Regions from separate parts of the Homo sapiens genome. Here region 1 is linked to region 2. The links are contacts of gene promoters, found by promoter capture Hi-C in blood cells and fetal thymus (Javierre and others, 2016). All regions are on one chromosome and are shown on one strand. Each heading gives the region's core, a stretch centred on a gene start or on the middle of the fragment in contact. The rest is flanking DNA. Distances are from core to core; before and after follow the strand shown. Region 1 holds the start of ZBTB46-AS1 (ZBTB46 antisense RNA 1). Region 2 overlaps GMEB2 (glucocorticoid modulatory element binding protein 2).

What was found. Contacts are between HindIII fragments. The CHiCAGO score rates a contact against its expected background, and 5 or more counts as called.
Region 1: the fragment with the promoter of ZBTB46-AS1 here is called in contact with a fragment that was not itself captured in region 2 in 1 of 17 cell types (monocytes); the score reaches 5.3 in monocytes.

Annotation. Positions count from the first base shown.
Region 1 is chr20:63,806,590-63,810,663 of GRCh38, forward strand. It overlaps ZBTB46-AS1 (ZBTB46 antisense RNA 1), which reads left to right and starts at 1,487. Exons shown (of 3, transcript NR_110081.1): 1 at 1,487-1,566. The region is part of intron 1 of ZBTB46 (zinc finger and BTB domain containing 46); the gene reads right to left. The HindIII fragment of the contact is 29,160 bases long and covers 1-4,074 here.
Region 2 is chr20:63,596,918-63,600,589 of GRCh38, forward strand. It overlaps GMEB2 (glucocorticoid modulatory element binding protein 2), which reads right to left. Exons shown (of 10, transcript NM_012384.5): 5 at 840-943. Among named protein-coding and RNA genes, the nearest start is that of HELZ2, 25 kb to the left of the region's middle. RefSeq lists an enhancer at 889-1,058. The HindIII fragment of the contact is 2,033 bases long and covers 971-3,003 here.

The sequences.
Region 1 (4,074 bases), core at 237-2,736, 210 kb after region 2:
GCTCTCAAGGAATATGATGGAATCTTTCTCTTTTTTTGAGATGGAATCTGGCTCTGTCACCCAGGCTGGAGTGCAACGGTGCGACCTTGGCTCACTAAAACCTCCACCTCCCACGTTCAAGCGATTCTCCTGCCTCAGCCTCCCATGTAGCTGGGACTACAGGCGCCCACCACCACGCCCAGCTAATTGTTTTGTTTTGGTTTTTTTTTTTGAGATGGAGTCTCGCTCTGTCGGCCAGGATGGAGTGCAGTGGCGCCATCTCGGCTCACTGCAAGCTCCGCCTCCCAGGTTCACGCCATTCTCCTGCCTCAGCCTCCTGAGTAGCTGGGACTACCAGCGCCCGCCACCACACCCGGCTAATTTTTTGTATTTTTAGTAGAGACGGGGTTTCACCGTGTTAGCCAGGATAGTCGCGATCTCCTGACCTCATGATGCACCTGCCTCGGCCTCCCAAAGTGCTGGGATTACAGGCGTGAGCCACCACGCCTGGCCAGGATTGGTGTTAATTCTTAAAATGTTTGATAGAATTCAACAGTGAAGTGATATATACAATCATATACATATATAGAGAGAGACAGAGATGGACTTTTCTTTTGTTGGAAGTTTATTGACTATTGATTCAATTTCTTTATTGAAATTGACTTTTCTTTTTGGAAGCTAAAAAGTACAATAACTGTAGTGAAAGTTTCTGAACTTTTCTTTCATTGGAAGTTTTTTGACTACTGATTCTTTATTTGTTATAGGTCTATTCAGATTTTCTGTTTCTTCTTGAGTCAGTTTGGTCTCGCTCTGTCACCCAGGCTGGAGTGCAGTGGCGCCATCTTGGCTCACTGCAACTTCTACCTCCCGAGTTCGAGTGATTCTCCCACCTCAGCCTCCCCAGTATCTCGGACTACAGGCGCACGCCAGCATACCTGGCTAATTTTTGCATTTTTAGTAGGAACGGGGTTTCACCATGTTGGCCAGGCTGGTCTCGAACTCCTGGCCTCAAGCAATCTGCCCGCCTCGGCCTCCCAAAGTGTTGGGACTACAGGTGTGAGCCACCGCGCCCGGCCTTCAGCTACTCCATTTTTTAACATTTTGCCGCATTTGTTTACATCAAGCAATATGATAGAATCCCTAACCAGTTACTTTTTGCTTAAAAGCTGTACTAGGCCAAAACAAGCGAAGCACCCGTCTGTGTGAGGCAGCGGGTCTGGCTTACAGGCGGCGCCTCAGGGCTCGCTCCCCCTCCGAGCGGGTCTCACTCCCAGAGCGGGGCTCGCCCGGTGTCTGGCCTCCGAGGCCGTGTGCCCAAGTCCCCACCTTGTGCGGCACAGGCCCTTCCCACAGGGGACACTCACGGAAGCTGAACGGACCTTCCCACAGGAGACACTCACGGAAGCTGAACGGACCTTCCCACAGGGGACACTCACGGAAGCTGAACGGACCTTCCCACAGGGGACACTCACGGAAGCTGAACGGACCTTCCCACAGGGGACACTCACGGAAGCTGAACGGACCGACGGAGGTGGCGTGGATGAGCAGCAGCCGCCTGAGCAGTGAGGAAACCCCGCGGACAGCGCGGTAAGGACCCCACCCAGATTACTGGATTTCACCACCGGCCGCCTTCGATGGAGGAGTCCTCAGTCTCCACATCCGCACGGCACAGACGGAGGGGGGGCCCATGGGGCCCCAGCGATGAACCTGTCAGGGGTCCCCTGTACCCTGTAGGCCAGTCAAGCCATCCTTCCCAGCCCTTGCCCCGGGGGCTGAGCGCAGGGGAGGGCCCGGAAGGCAGACGCCACGGAGCCCGGGGCTTCAGGGGGGCGTGGGGCGGAAGCGGGGCCAGGGCGGAGGTCACGGACAGGGTCATCCGGACCCACAAGGAGTCTCAGCCCCGGGCCCGGCGGGAGGGAAGGGGGAAGCCAGGCTCTTCCTCCTAGGGCAGGGCCTGGGCTCCGGGGCAGTGTGACCTCCCGCCCCTAAGCGAGTCCTGCCTCCCCATGAGACCTGAGCTCCTCCAGCGTGGGTGGGAGGCGGACAGAGCCTCCCCCAGAGAAGGCCCTCCTCGGTCCAGCGCTCGGCCAGGACAGGCGCCAAGGCCGCCTTAAGAAATAAAACCAGCAGGCGCGGTGGCTCACGCCTGTAATCCCAGCACTTTGGGAGGCCGAGGCGGGCGGATGGTGAGGTCAGGAGATCAAGACCATCCTGGCTAACATGGTGAAACCCCGTCTCTACTAAAAAATACAAAAAAAAATTAGCCGGGCGTGGTGGGGGCGCCTGCAGTCCCAGCTACTCGGGAGGCTGAGGCAGGAGAATGGCGGGAACCCGGGGGGCGGAGCTTGCGGTGAGCCGAGATGGCGCCACTGCACTCCAGCCTGGGCGGCAGAGCGAGACTCCGCTTCAAAAAAAAAAAAAAAAAAAAAAAGAAAAAGAAAAAAAAAAAAGAAAGAAAACTCCATGATTCATGAGGTAAGACCTGGGAGCTGGCGGCTCGGTGCTCCGGTGCTGCAGAGGCACTCAAGGGGCTCTCCACGTTCGCCTTCCACGTTCCCCTTCGCAGGGACCGCAGCGCCTGGGGCACTTCGCCATGGGCTTGGCCGAAGTGGGCACTAAAGGTGCAGACTCGGTGGAGCCAAGGGGGGCAAGGTCAGCAGCCCTGGGGGCGCAGCCCTGGGGGCCCCGCCGTGGGCCACGCCCAGCGCGTCCAGTCCTCATGGCCGCGTCTATTCCAGGAATGGGGTCCTGGGGTTCGGCACAGGCCTGCTGGGGTGGTGGCCCCACATCTTGCCTGTGTCCCCCCATATTATGCCCAAGGGAGCAACAAAGGCCACCCCTGGGTCCAGGCCTCAGGAGCTCACAGGAGCCCTGAGCCCAGAAGACAGCAGCGCCCTCACGCGGTCCTCAGCAAACCTGCCAGAGCCCAGCAGGTGGAGAGGACTCCGGGAGACAGCAGGAGCTCCGCGACCTCCCTTCCTCTCCCCTCTTCTCCCTTACGAAGTTAGCCGTGTGGTGGCCAGTGTGGCTTAACTCAATGATACAATTTTAAAGATTTCTGGAAAGGACTTAAAAGACACGTGCTTAACTCTGAGAAAAGATTTCAAGGCCAGGCCAGAATGGTGGCTCATGCCTGAAATCCCAACGCTGAGGGAAGCCGGGGCGAGCAGATGGCTTGAGCCCAAAAGTTCAAGACCAGCCTGGGCAACATGGTGAGACCCCATCTCTACAAAAAATAGAAAAAATTAGCCGGGCATGGTGGTGCACACCTGTAGTCCCCGCGACTCTGGAGGATGAAGTGGGAGGATCCCTTGAGTCGGGAGGTCGAGGTTGGAGTGAGCCAAGATGGCACCACTGTACTCCGGCATGGGTGACACAGCAAGGCCCTCTCTCAAAAAAAAAAAAAGAAAAGAAAACTCTAAATACATGGAACTGGCAAACATTAACGTAATGTCAATTACAAAGGTGGCCGTGACACAGGAGGCCCAGAGTGGGGCGGCCCTTGAAGCAGCCTGCAGCGTGGGGATGAGGCCTACAGATGCCTCTGCCTCTTTGACTAATTCCACTTCTGAGACTCTGCCCCAAGGAAATAACCCAAAAAGCTAATTGGTTCCAAGATGTTCCAAGCACTGCTATGGCTAACAGTGACAAACAGAAAAAGACCCAAACACTCGACAATTCGAAGATGGCCCAGAAAACCGTCAAGTATTAAAACTGAGCAAAACCCAATTCCAGGAACATTAAAAATGCCAGTCACGTGGATGCTTAGAAGTTTATCAGAAATTAACGGGAAGAAATGAGAACAGAAAGCCCAGCTGGTCGTGTCTGCACAAGCTCACACACACCGACCACACTCAGGATAGGCACCAAAACCCCCCTTCCCCTCGCAAACCAAGGTCCTTATTCATAAAACACAAATGTAATCCTAGCACTTTGGGAGGCTGAGACAGGTGGATCATATGAGATCAGGAGTTTGAGACCGTCCTGGCCTACATAACGAAACTCTGTCTTTACTAAAAATATTAAAATTAGCTGGGCGTGGTGGCACGCACCTATAATCCCAGCTACTAGGGAGGCAGAGGCAGGAGAATCGTT
Region 2 (3,672 bases), core at 737-3,236:
TGAGGAAGAGAATCGCTTGAACCCAGGAGGCAGAGTTCGCAGTGAGCCAAGATCATGCCACTGCACTCCAGCCTGGGCAACAGAGCAAGACTCCCTCTCAAAAAAAAAGTGAAAGAAAGGACAGAAATAAGGAGTAACATAAAAGGCCAAAATCTGATGCACAAATACCAGATTATACCTTTCTTTTATTTTTTATTTTCAGAATGCATAATTGGAACAGACCCTTTTCTTTTCCTTTTTATTCTTGTTTTTTTTTTTTTTTGAGACAGAGTCTCACTCTGTAACCCAAGCTGTATTGCAGTGGCACAATCACAGCTCACTGCAGCCTTGACTTCCAGGCTCCAGTGATCCTTCCACCTTAGCCTCTCGAGCAGCTGGGACCACAGGCATATGTCACCAAATCCAGATAATTTTTTTTTTATTTTTAGTAGAGATGAGGTCTCATTATTGTGCCCAGGCTGGTCTCAAACTCTTGGCGTCAAGTGATCCTCCTGCCTCAGCCTCCTAAAGTGTTGGGATTGCAGGTGTGAGCCATGTGCCCAGCCAACCCTTTATTTTACAACGCTGAAACAGTCACAAGTGCCTTCAGGTAAAGAATTGGTGGAAATTAAAATGACTGACAAAACAATTCTAAAAATCTGATAGTGTCCCTGTTGGCAGGAGTGTGGGAGACGGGTTTACAGTTTTGGGTGTGAGCAGGTGCAGCAGCCACCCGGGAGGTTGTCAGCACTCACCACATCTAAAATACGCCTCATCTTCAAAATCCCAAAACCCCACAAGAAAGCAAGAGCTGCCAGGGCCCCTTCCAGCAGGGAGGCTGACCCTGCGCCAGCGCCCACCTGAGCATGATGCCGTTCATGCGGATGGCTCTCTTCCAGTCCTTCAGGGTGGACTTCCCGGCCAGGTGCACAAATTCCTTTGGGCTGATTACATGCTCGTCGTACTGTGGGGGACACAGTCATGTGGGTCAAGCTTGGCCGGGACACCACATAGGGTGCCCCCATCTCCCATCCGACCCTGAGTCAGGCGCGCAAGGCAGGAAAAGCGCCACGGCACGGCTCTGACCGGTGCAGGCCTCCTACAGAGCATTCAGGTAAAACAAGGACATGACCCACAGGCACGGTGGCTGCAGTGGGGAGTGGTGTCTCCTCCAGCCCTGAGGGGGCAGAGCTGCTGTGTGCCTGGGGCTAGACAGGGCTGGGCTGACCACACCAGGTAGAAGGTGTGTGGCCTTCTCTTCCTCCAGGCAGACTAAGCAAACTGCTTCTGTGCAATGTATTTTATAAATACACGTTATTGCATACGTTACATCGCAGATGGCAACAGATGCCAGCACATGGGTGGAGCTGTGAACGCCACCTTCCTCAGGTCCCTCCTGACACCACCTTGCCCCGTGCAGCAAACACCGGCACCTGCTCTCACTCTGACACACACACACACACACACACACACACACTCATCTGTTTCTAAGCCAGGGGAACCCTCCTGCTTGCTAATTTCACCCATGTGGGAGCTCAGAGAAACTGAGAAGGTAAAATATCCTGTTCAATCTTGTTACACAAGCAATTATTGAAACCAAAAACTGGAATAAAACTGCATTTACTTAGAAAACAAGCAGGCTGGGGATGGAGGAGTCACGAGGTCTCTGCAGCTGGACCCAGGAGGCCCGAGTACGGGGGCCGCCTCCACCCCCGGGCCGTGCCCAAGTCTAGCTTGCTGAAGGAAGTGATGTTCCCAATCCCTGAGCCCACCCTCTCATGACCCCTGTGCCACAGACGGGAACACTAAGCCCAGCCAGTCTCTGGCTCTCCCTCATGCGGCTGATCAGGGAGATCCCATAGAAGTCCAGAAGGTGGAATCCAGAAGATTCTCTGGCCACTGTCGGAGCCTGGCAGGAAGGCTGCACTGGCTGTGACTGAGGCTGCTTCCGGCCATCACTTCTACCCAACGTGGCTCACACCTAGGAAACTCAACTGCACCCAAAGGGCCTGATCCTACCTAGGGCTCTGGGCTCAGCCAGCCTCACCTCCCTGCCCCTCCTAGGCCTGCCTCTTTCCTTTCTTGCTTTCACCTTTGTTACTCTTCTCACCCCAGGTTTTCCTCTCCCAGCTAGGAAGCTACATGCTGTACTCTCATGAGTGGCTCCAGGAGCTTCAGCATGTCACGCTTACCAGAGCTGCCAGAGCCCAGAGCTAACGCGGCCACTCCTGACCCCCCAGAGCTAACGCAGCCGCTCCTGACCCTCCAGCGCTAACGCGGCCCGCTCCTGACCCCCCGGAGCTAACGTGGCCGCTCCTGACCCCCCGGAGCTAACTCGGCCCGCTCCTGACCCTCCAGACCACAGCCACGTGGCCCTGCTCTCATCTCTGAGGCCCTCCAGGGCGTCTCTCTCGATGCTGAATAGACAGGACTGGTCGGGTGACCCACGTTTCCCCGACTCTTCACACCTCCTCACAGCACAGCGCTTCCATCTGGAGGCCTCCTATCTCCGCCTGCAATGCATATTTAGAACATCCTTCCATCATGATCTGCTGGTGGCAAACTCGTGTCTTTTTCTGGAAACGTCTTTCTTCCAGCATAATTTCAAAGACGACCTCACGGTGTCGTCACTCGCCACACAGTGAGGCTCTGGCGCTGCCACCTCTGCTCCTGCGCTGCTTTCGGGAGCTCACGGCCGGCGGGATTCTTGCTACTGAGCGATCCGTCTCTCCTCCTGGCTAGACTGAGGATCTTCTCTGTCCCCGTCCTTCTGGAATTTCATTATGATGTCACCTATGGTACATTTCTTTCGTGTTTCCAACTTCTAATTCTAATACAATTTCAAACTCACAGGGTAATTGCCAGGATAGTCCAGGGAGCTCTCACACGTGCGTTCCGGACTCACTGCCTGCTCCCGTCTGCCCCCTTGCCCCCGCCTAGACCTGTGCACGTGCAGCTACTGAGAGTGAAGCAGAGACGTCGGGCCCCTGGGCCCTCAACACTTGTGTATATTTCCTAAGAACAAGCTTCTCTTACGCAGCCACAGAACAACTCGCATCAGGAAATTATCATTCATACATTATTCTCTAATCCATTGTCCATAGTCAAATTCATGAATTGTTCCAATGATAGCCTTTATTGCAAAAAAAAAATTTTTTTTTTTGAGATGGAGTCTCACTCTGTCGTCCAGGCTGGAGTGCACTGGTGCAATCTTGGGCTCACTGCAACCTCCGCCTCCCGGGTTCAAGAGATTCTCTTGCCTCAGCCTCCCGAGTAGCTGGGAGTACAGGCACATGCCACCATGCCTGGCCAATTTTTTTGTATTTGTCGCAGAGATGGGGTTTCACCATGTTGGCTGCGCTGGTCTCGAACTCCTGACCTCAGGTGATTCACCCGCCTCGGCCTCCCAAAGTGCTGGGATTACAGGCGTGAGTCACCATGCCCAGCCTACATTTTTTTCTGATGCAGGATCCAGCCCAAGACTGTGGAGCATGCAGCTGCCTTGCTCTTCGGCTTTTGTCCCCATTAAGACTGCAGCAGGCCGGGCGCGGTGGCTCACGCCTGTAATCCCAGCACTTTGGGAGGCCAAGGCGGGCAGGTCACCTGAGGTCAGGAGTTCGGGCTCAGCCTGGCCAACATGGCAAAACCCCATCTCTACTAAAAATACAAAAATCAGCCAGGCATGGTGGTGGG